Linked DNA regions of Homo sapiens: region 1 is linked to region 2. The links are contacts of gene promoters, found by promoter capture Hi-C in blood cells and fetal thymus (Javierre and others, 2016). All regions are on one chromosome and are shown on one strand. Each heading gives the region's core, a stretch centred on a gene start or on the middle of the fragment in contact. The rest is flanking DNA. Distances are from core to core; before and after follow the strand shown.

Region 1 (5,137 bases), core at 2,620-5,119, 600 kb before region 2:
CCTGTGATTTTAGATTGTCCTATATATAATATAATGTATTATTATTATGGCATTCATGTCTTAAGGTTATATGTTCATTCATTGATTTGTTCAGACTTTTTACAACATCTAGATGCTGGGCATAAGAGATACAGGGATACAAAAAAATACAGTTCTTACCCTTAAGGAACTGAAAATATCACGAGGGAGACAGATAGTAATAAAACTGTTTCATACTTCCTTTTTTATTTACCATGTGCCAGGCTCTGTTCTGAGTACCTTGACATACATTAACTAATTTAATCTTACTGCAGTCCTATGAAATAGATAGTTATTGGCTCTATTTTACAGATAAAGAAATTGAGACAGAGAGAGGGTAAGTAACTTGCCTAAGGTCACACAGCTAGTGTGTGACTAATGGCACTAGGGCTCTAGTCTGTGCTCTAAATCTGTACTGACCAATATAGTAGTCACTAGTCACATGTGGCTTTGGAGCACTTGTAATGTGGCTGGTTTAAATTGATTGGGCTGTAATTGTGAAATACTAGATTTCAAAGACCTAGCATAAAAAAAAATCTCATGTTGAAATTGCATGTTGTAATGATATTTTGAATATACTGAGTTAAGTAAAATACATCAAAATCAATTTTACTTTTTAATTGTGGCAGTTATAAAATTATATACATACGCTTGCATTTGGGACTCACATTAGTCTTTTATTGTACTGTGCTATTCTAAATCATTATACTGTAATAATAGTAATAGCATATGAAATTTTTGAGCACTCACTGTGTGCCACATACTGTGCTAATATCTTTTAAAACACTTTCAGTTAGGCCCCAAAATAGCCCAGTTTATTATCACTATTTTATAGAAGGGGGAGAAGGTTTTGAGACATTTAGTAATTTGCCTGAAATTAATCAACTAGTTAATGGCAAATCCAAAATTGGAACTGTATATGTCTGACTCAAAAACCTGTGAGTTTTATGGGTTTTTTTGGTGTTGAACTCCTGGCCTCAAGCAATGCTCCTGCCTCAGCCTCCTGAGTAGCTGAAATTACAGGTGCAAGCTACCACACCCAGTTAAAAAACCTGTGTTCTTAATCAGCACACTACAGTTCCATTCATAATTAAATTTCAGACTATTTTCTTTGTTTTAATTTTTATAAGTATATTTAATATTGCATACTTCTATATCTGATGCATAAAGGTTCAAAATAAAAATTACCAGTCTGTAAAATAGACATCTTGTATGGAACTGTCTTTTGTAGAGCTTCAGTGAACACCAGCACAGTTGAGCCTGAGATGAAGCAGTGAGTCAGCCTATACAAATTGTATTTAATTTTCATTCCATATAGTTGTGCCAGTCACTGGGCAATTTATGTCCTGACACTCTTTGTCCATAGAGAAGGGAAAGAGGGGCAATGCACCTCTCCTTTGTTGTTTAGCTCTCTTGGCTGTTAAGAAAAAATTGCTTTCTATTTCATTGTCTTCCAAAATGCTGTTTGTGTTTGAGAGAGCAACAAAATGCTGTCTAGTGACCCCTCACTTTTCTTTCTTCTAGAGCAAAGACTCAGGTGGACTGAAGGCCGCTATGATCGAATTGGTGGAAAGGTTGAAGTTCAAGAGCTCAGACCCTAAAGTAAGTATTGTTTGGAATTGATTGGGTGTTGGTACCCCAAGCATTTCATTCTCCTTGAGCTAAAATTGTGAGGTGTTGATGATCATCTCTCTGAATATTGCATTAAGATTTAATTAAGCCTGCCCATCAGAAACAGTGTCCTGATATGCCTAGAGATAAGTCATCTATTTTTCTCCTTCTCTATTTTATGACTTACAACACATAATCATTCATTGTTTTCCCTGAACTGCAGACAGGTGCATTTTTAATCCTCCTTTACCAGGGGTCTTTGAATCTTTGGTCCTCTGTGTCCATTAGATGCAGCCAAAGGCGTCTGAGAGAAATACAGATCATCTTTTTTTTTTTGAGACAGAGTCTCGCTCTGTTGCCCAGGCTGGAGTGCAGTGGCGCAATCTTGGCTCACTACAGCCTCCGCCTGCCGGGTCCAAGCCATTCTCCTGCCTCAGCCTCCTGAGTAGCTGGGATTACAGGCCTGCGCCACCATGCCCTGCTAATTTTTGTATTTTTAGTAGAGACGGGGTTTCACCATGTTGGTCAGGCTGGTCTCGAACTCCTGACCTCGTGATCCGCCCTCCTCGTCCTCCCAAAGTGCTGGGACTACAGGTGTGAGCCACCGCACCAGCTGAGAAATACAGATCATCTTAATGCCAGGGACTGGCATGGGATCCAGACTCATCTAGTTGGTGTTCAGCACTAGCGTCTTATCTCTCCACTGCTTCCAGGAGCCAGCTGCCACTCAGAATACTTTTTTCCTCATGACCTGAAGTCTGGTTTGGAAACTGGTTTAAGTGTCCCGGCTTTTTTTTTTTATTTCAATATGTTAGGGTCTAGAGGATTGATATTCTGGGAGACACCATAACGGGGTGGAGGTAAACGGAACTGAACAGACTTCCTTCTCCTTCCTACCCAGACACTTACTGTGGCACTACCTGGTATTGGGGCCAGCTGGCTTTGCCTTAGAATCAAAGTTTCTCACAATTAAATAGGGAAAGGCGCATGATTTTATTTTACTGTAGGTTCTTTTTGTTTTTGTTTTTGTTTTTTTTTTTTTTAAGAGGAATGGGACTAGCATTTCTTGAGTATCTACTGAGAGTCAGGCACTTTGCTAGGACTCTTACATGATTGTACTAAAATATACATACAAAATTTTAACCATTTTTGAGTGTACAGTTCAATGGCATTAAGTACATTCACTTTGGTTTTTTGTTTGTTTGTTTGTTTTTGTTTTTTGTTTTTTTGAGACGGAATCTCGCTCTGATGCCCAGGTTGGAGTGCAGTGGCATGATCTCGGCTCAGTGCAACCTCTCCCTCCCAGGTTCAAGTGATTCTCCTGCCTCAGCCGCCTGAGTGGCTGAGACTACAGGCACATGCCACCACACCCAGCTAACTTTTTGTGTTTTTACTAGCGACAGAGTTTCACCATGTTGGCCAGGCTGGTTTCGAACTCCTGACCTCAAGTGATCTGCCCGCCTCAGTCTCCCAAAGTGCTGGGATTATGGGCGTGAGCCACCACACCTGGCCACACTTTGTTGTGCAGCCATCATCACTGTCCATCTCTAGAGCTTTTTTACTATCCCAAACTGAAATTCGGTACCCATTAAATGCTAACTTCTCATTCCTGCTCTCCCCTTAAATACTTTTAATTATTTAACAACACTGTAAAGTAGCATTTTCTTCCTACTTTATTGATAAGAACACTGAGGTTTAGAAAGGTAGAATCATCTGCCCAAATCTAATGTAATATAGATGTGGAATTCAAACTCTGACTCCAGTGCCTATACTCTTTATCTTATGTCATGCAAACCAAGCACTGGATTTTATCTCCTTTCTGCCACATGATCACATTGTGCTGCAGTTTTCTAAATTGAAACACAATATGTGGCAGAGCCATAGACTGGTGGGCTCTTCAAAAGGTGGCTGCAGCCACAAGAATAAATTTCTCTTCATATGGCAATGAAAATATCGGGGACATTGGTAAGATCTCTTGTCTTCTGGTGTAGTCAGGGTTCCAGAAGTAGAGAGTTAGGTTGGTAGATAGAAAAAATTAGAGTAACCTTTATCAACTTTCCTAGCTCAAAGTAGGAGGACCCCTGATAAAAGTTTTTCCTTTAGCTAGGATGAACCACTTATTAAAAGTTACTGAAAGCTTTTCTTACCAAGTTTCTCTGGTTTCTGGAGCAACTCCTGTTCTGCAGGAGACAACCATATTCTGATTCCGCCAAACTTATAATTAGCAGTGCAGTGAAGAGGGAGCGGATGTGTACAAATCACACTGAGTGTTCTCTGTGTATGACTATAATACAGGTAAAGTGCTTTGGGATCCTTTATGAATGCATGTAGTGCTTCTGATGGAAAGCTTGCCAGAAAGTGAAAGGTTTGAGCGGTTGCATGAGAGGAATCCCTGGAAGTGTCAGGGTTTTCTCTTGATGCATCATAAGGTAAAGGATATTTGTAAGGACCCGACTTGATCTTGGGTGTGTGTGTATACCTGCACCTCTTTTTTACGTTCTTTTTATTTTGCCCTGGATCATTTACTACCAACCTATTTTATTTTCAAGCCCCTTTTTAGTCTACCACAACCATATGCTGTATATACTTGGAGCCAGCTTGAAGAAGGGTGAACGTAATTGCAGAATGACTGCCAGGTCAGGAATGGGGGTAAAAAACAGGCCACTTAAATATATAATTTCTGCACAAAGAAGATTTTCCTAGAAATAAATTGGCATCTTCCAAGACAACCCTTAAGTTTTTGTCTGTTCTGTTTTCCCACAGAGCCCCACCATCCCCTTTTTGAGTTGGCCTATTTAAGAAGGGCAGAAATCTCTTAGGCTTTGTGACCTGTCATTTCCTGGGCACAGAGGCTTTACATAGAAGCACTGATTGAGTCATGGAGGACTGAGCACTATCTCTGCCTCACTTCCTCTAGAATTCCCTAAAGCATCACAAAGCTTGATTAGTCCAGACACTGAAGCCTATTGGGGAATGAGTTAATTTTTACCTCTTGAGTTTTGCTAGAGAGCAGTAGAAGATGTCTAAATTAATCATTTTTTTAAAATTATAAAATAATACATACTTATAGATTTAAAAATACAGATATTCATAAAGAAAAAGTAAAATCTCCCCTAAGTTAGCCACTGTTAACAGTTTAGTATGTAACCTTCTAGACATTTTTCTATGTAGTACCTTTTCAAAATTCTTTTACAAAATTATACCCATGGTTTTACAATTGCTTTTTCCTTTATGTGGAATATCTTAGATATTCTTCTGTGTCAAAAATATAGACTTGATTCTGTTTAATGAGATGCCTCATTTTATTCAAAACATTTGTCAGACATCTTCTTTTCTTCCAGACCCAGAGGTTCTTAAACTTCAGTGTACATGAAAATCACCCAGAAGACGTATTAAAATATAGAGTGCTGTGCCCACCTCCAGAGTTTTTTATTCAATTGGCCTGGGGTGGCTAGACAATGTTCATTTCTATGAAATTATCAGGTGATGCTGATGTTGCTGTTTCAAG
Region 2 (5,750 bases), core at 116-2,615:
ACTGGGTTGGGAGCTGAGAGCCCTAGATTGCCAGTCCCAGCTCTGTTACTTCATTTATTAATTCATTTAACAGCTATTTACTGAGCACGTGCTGTGTGCCAGGTATTATTGTTCTACTTATTGGGCATTAACACTTGTGAACAAAAGAGTAGATCCCCTTAGGAGTGGAGAATGCTAATGAACACTGAGAAGGCAATTAAAAAATAAATAAGTAAAACAAAACAGAGACTATTACATGGACCGATGATGATGATGTGCCATAAATTGAGGAGAGTAACTCAACCCTCTTCACCTGGTGTTTAAAAAAAAAAAAAAAGAGAGAGGAAGAAAGGAAAGGTCCCTGATGGATCTTACATTCTTATGAGACAGACGGACAACGGGCAAATAGCTAGCGACAAGTTCTACGAAGGAAAATAAAGCTGCCCTTTCTCCTACAGGGCAAATCATAAGTTAAATAATTCCGGCCAGGCGCGGTGGCTCACGCCTGTAATCCCAACACTTTGGAAGGCGGAGGCGAGTGGATCACGCGGTCAGGAGTTCAAGACCAGCCTGGCCAAGATGTTGAAACCCCGTCTCTACTAAAAATACATAAATTTGCCAGGCTTGGTGGCGGGCGCCTGTAATCCCAGCTACTCGGAAGGCTGAGGCATAGAATTGCTTGAACTCGGGGGGCGGAGGTTGCAGTGAGCCGAGATTGCGCCACTGCTCTCCAGCCTGGACAACAGAGCTAGACTCCGTCTCAAATAATAATAATACTTCATTTGAGCTTTACAAAGCCCTATGAAGTAGGTCCCTTTCAACCTCACAACTTTTCAAATGATTATCAGGAGTATGTCCTGCCCCTTTCGCAGGTCAAAGAGAGTAGGGAAAATCTGGACCTCAAGGGAACATTGAACGCACAGGTCATTCGGAGGGCTGGGCAGACGCAGTAGGAGATAATTTCTTAATTGTGCAATGCAGGAGGGGCTACGGGATGAAATGGGGAACTGACAACGTGGGTCTAGCAATTACCACTTCAATGCACCAATACCGAAAACCAATCCCAAAGACTAATAGCAGGAGGTTGTACTGCGCCTTCATGCCCATTATTTTATTTTTTTTTATCTTACGTTCCTGTCAAAACGATATTTTGTTCTTACTTTTTAAAAGCTCAGAAAGACGCAACGATTTGCCTGGGATCACACAGAGAACAAGCAGCAGAGTTGTGGCTCCAAACCAGGGTCAATTTGTTCCCAATTCCTGCTCCGTCTAAAGTCTCGGAGACAAAGGGCCACCTCACGCTGTCCCCACCCCTTCGACTTACCTTGAGCAGGCTCTGGAGTGCTGCAAAATGCTCCGCTGTCAGGGCAGCCATCTTGCCGAAGTCACATGACCGTGGCACCCAGGGAAGCGAGGTCACGTGGCTGTCGCTGTTGTCGCGGGGCCTGCCGGGGGCTGTAGTCCTTCAGAGTGGGGGAAGGCGTTTCGGTTGTGGTGCTGCGGCAGTGAGCGCGGATCAAGACGGACGCGGCGGCTGGATGACTAAACCCCGAGACTCTAGAACCAAAGGACTAGGGGGACCAGGGCGGAGGATGGTTTACTCGGGGAGGAAATTGGCTTGACTTGTCTACTTACCAAGTCAGGGAAACAGGTTTTCCCTTGACCCATGTGGGTGGGCTGGCGCACTTGGGGAATGCACCTGCAAGCTTGGCAGGCGCCTTGGAAACGTAGTTGTTCAGGAGTGATCGGCGTACCAGTGTTTGGAATGAAAATGAGGCTGTGCATATCGGGCTTCTTGGAATTGACACACACACATGCACACATCCTGTCTTGAATGTAAAATTACTTCTGCGTATATAGTTTTTCAGCCTATGTAGTAGGTTGGAGCTGGTATTATTAGTATTATCCAGATTGGGAAATAATCATTTAGGGTTTTTAGTAACTTTCCCATAGTCATAGAGAAGATCTGATTACAAGAGCAGGTGAGGAAGTGTTTGGGAGAGGGGACAAGAGAGGAATGGAATGAAAGCTACTACCTAGCTAGGTTCTTGTTATACGGGGGTGAGATGGGGGAGGAGGTTAATGGAAATGATTTAGTTCATTTATTCAAAAAGGTAATTATAATGAATATAATTGTAAAGAGTGATTTTGCACTGGCAGTACTGGACTCTGATTTGCCCTGTTCTCAGAGACCGTACATCAAAACAGACATTTCCTTTATCTACCTTTAGTATTTGGGTGGCTCTTTTCTTTTCCTACCCTCCACTTTTTTTTAAGCAAATTCCAGCTCAAAAAATGGGTTCTGATATATTCGAGCTTAAGAAAGAATGCCCATTTGTGAAATTCCAGAAATTGGTAAGCTGCTAAGGACATTTGTTCCTTTGTCTCCTCTCCTCCCCCTTCCCCTTCCCCGACTCCATTTTCTGTGGGGATGTTGTCAAGGCCCAGGAAACCAAAAATCAAATTGTCTAAGGAGGAACCCATTCCTGGATTAGAAGATTTTAGAACCATTTTGTCACAGGGTCCTGATTCTAGCTCTCTTTCTTGGCCTCTCTTTTCCATGAACCCTCATGGCCTGATTCCTGGTTTCTGTTATAACTCAATGTAGGTTCTAGGTTTAACTCCTGCCTGTATCTATAGGGCTGGGCCCATTGTCTTGGGTTAATTGAATATTTGTTAAATAAACAACCACCCAAAAAAGTGATTAGACTAAGATGAAATTTTGTGACTTATTTGAGGATATTGCCTTGGTATTTGCAGGATTGTGCCTTCTTGTCTTACTTTAGAGTAATGAGGAGTGTGGTCACCAGCCTTCAAGATGGCCCTCAATGATCCCAGCCTCCTGGTGTTCACAACCTAGTGTAGACACCTCCCACCATGTACCAGGATTGGTATGCATGACCAATAGCAAATGGTGGGTGTGAATGGCATATCACTTCTGAGATTAGGTTATACAAGACTGCACCAAAAAACTAACAAAAAGACTGAAGTTCCTGTCTCCTGGCTTGGGTGCTCTCTCATGTGCCCTGCTCTCTTTCACTTGAATCCTTTGCTCTGGGGAAAGCAAACTGCCATGTTGTAAACAGTCCTACAGAGAGGCCTAGGTGACAAGGAACTGAAGCATCTGGCCAACAACTTCATTACTGACCTGAGAAGCAGATTGTCTAGGCCCAGTAGAGCCTTAAGAAGGCAGGAGTCTTGGCCAACAGCTTAACTGCAACCTCATGAGAGATTCTGAGCCAGCACCACCCAGCGAAGCCACGCCTGGATTTCTGGCCTTCAAACACTATTAAGATTATCAATGTTTGTTGTTTTAAGCTATGAAGCTTTGAAGTAATTTGTTATACAGCAATAGTAACTAATGCATGGTGGCAGCAAAGCATAGGGGTTTTAGAATTCAACCTGAGTTGGAATCCTAATTCTACACATTATTAACTTTTCCGTGTACAAATTCTTGAACTTCTCTGGGCCTCAGTTTCCACCTCTGTAAAATGGTGTTCATCACACCCATCTAGTTCAGAGAGCAGAGCTGAGCGACAGGAGCTGCTTCAGTGGGAGGATTCCCAGCTCTCCTTACTCTCGCGGGCTGGTATGATATGAATGGCACCATGTCATCCCATTTTGGTAGGGCTGCCCAGATTGCCAATGCCATGTTGCATGTAAAGGTTTGTCTGTGGTCTGCAGAATGTCCAGCAATTTCTAAACCATAAACATTTTCATGGGTGGGAACAAAACAGAATGTCGGAGTTCATTTCTGTGATTTGGTCCCATTGCCTGGTTTTCATTAGGCCAAACCTAATTTCTTTCCAATTCTGAATATAGGAATCAGTGCTGACTTTCATTTATTTAATAAACTTGTTATGTGCCCGGCTCTGTTCTAAGCCCTTACATTTACTGATTAATTTACTTCCCATTCCTATCCTATGATATTATATATATACGTATGTATATACATACACACACATATGTACACACACACATAAGTACATATACATATATAAGCACACACACTGTATTGTTTCCATTTTACATATGGAGAAACAGACATAGGCAGATTAAGTAGTCTGAGGTCACACAGCTAAGTAGTGGCAAAGCCCAGATTCAAATATGGCCAGTCTGGCTCCAGATTCTGCACTGTTAACCGCCAAGCTGTACATGTCTCCTTGTTGTCCCACAGCTGTAAATTTGTGTTTCTTCTCTTTGCATGTCTGACTACCTTCCTCAGGCAGCAAGAACAATCTAAGAGTGTTCCTGTACAATCAGTCTGGTGATGGTGAGAAACAATATAATGAGTGAGTGGAAGGGCTACCTTGGGCTTTGGGAAAAGACCTAGGTTCAGTTTCCAACTCCTGTGTACTGTTAGCAAATTACTTCCCCTCTTGGAACCTCAATTTCATCATCCGTAAAATGGGAACAATAATAAAAATACCTTTTGGCCATTAGGGGGAGCTCAAGGATGACTTATACCCCAAAAGGGGAAGGATTGCTTATGTGGATTCTCAGTTCTAGTCATTGGCAACGCTAAAGGGCAGAGCTTTCCCCTGTTGTGGGCAAGGGTTTGCACGAGGGGGACTGGCCATCCCAGTTTTCCCAGGGATGAGGGGTTTCCTTGGATGCAGGACTTTCAGGGCTAGCGCTGGGACAGTTCTGGACAAACCAGGCCAGTTAGTCACCCAAGTTTGAGCCCTGAGCCTTGGGGGAAACCAGCCTTTTGGAACACTTGCCCTGATTTCTCCAGTGGGGCAGATATGAAGCAAGGGATATGGACACAGAATTTATTAGTAGAAAATGATTAAGGGCAGCAATCTTAGTATTGAGGGTTTTTTTATAGTAGCTTTATTGAAATAGAATTAACATTCACATACCATACAATTTATCCATTTGAAGTGTAAAATTCGATGAATTTTAGTATACTCACAGAGTTGTCCAACTATCACCACAATTAATTTTAGAACATGTTCATCATCCCCAAAAGAAACAGCATATCCTTTAGCTATCAACACCCACCTCTGCCCCCAATTCTCCCCATCACACCCAGCCCTAGGCAATCGCTAATCTGCTTTCTGTCTCTATGGTTTTGCCTTCTGGACATTTCCCATGAATTGGATCATATGATACGGTTTCTCCTCTTATACTAAGTAAAGGAAACGAGTACAAAAGACCACATATCATATGTTTTGTACTCGTTTCCTCTACTTAGCATAAGAGGAGAAACTTCTTCAAGGTTCGTTCATGTTATAGCCTGTATCGGTACTTCATTCGTTTTTTGCTGAATAATATTTTTTTGTACAGATATACCATAGTTTGTTCATTCATCAGTTGTAGACATTTGAGTTGTTTCTACTTTTTAGCTGTTGTGAGTAATGCTGCCATGAGCAATCATGTACAAAGTTTTTGTGTGAACATGTGTTTCATTTCTCTTGGAGTATACACTGAAGAGTGGAATAGTGGAGTTTCTGGGCCATATGATTACTCTGTGTTTAACCTTTTGAGGAAGTGTAAGACCATTTTCCAAAGTGACTGCACCATTTTACAGTCCCCAGAAGCAATGTATAAGGGTTTCAATTTCTCCACATCTGCACCAACATTTGTTTAAAAAAAAAAAGAGACAGAGAGATGGGGGTCTCTGCTCTTTTACCCAGGCTGGAGTACAGTGGTGTAATCATGGCTCACTGTAGCCTCAAACTCCTGGGCTCAACTGATCTTCCCACTTCAGCCTCCTGAGTAGCTGGGACTACAAGCATGCACAACCATACCCAGCTAATTTGATT

What was found. Contacts are between HindIII fragments. The CHiCAGO score rates a contact against its expected background, and 5 or more counts as called.
Region 1: a contact is called between a fragment that was not itself captured here and the fragment with the promoter of COMMD9 in region 2, in 10 of 17 cell types (naive CD8 T cells, naive CD4 T cells, naive B cells and 7 more). The highest score is 12.5, in naive CD8 T cells.

Annotation. Positions count from the first base shown.
Region 1 is chr11:35,683,717-35,688,853 of GRCh38, forward strand. It overlaps TRIM44 (tripartite motif containing 44), which reads left to right. Exons shown (of 5, transcript NM_017583.6): 2 at 1,543-1,620. Among named protein-coding and RNA genes, the nearest start is that of TRIM44, 24 kb to the left of the region's middle. The HindIII fragment of the contact is 210 bases long and covers 3,765-3,974 here.
Region 2 is chr11:36,288,059-36,293,808 of GRCh38, forward strand. COMMD9 (COMM domain containing 9) reads right to left here and starts at 1,366. Exons shown (of 6, transcript NM_014186.4): 1 at 1,304-1,366. The coding sequence starts at 1,354. RefSeq lists enhancers at 728-1,430, 1,267-1,516. The HindIII fragment of the contact is 8,947 bases long and covers 1-1,683 here.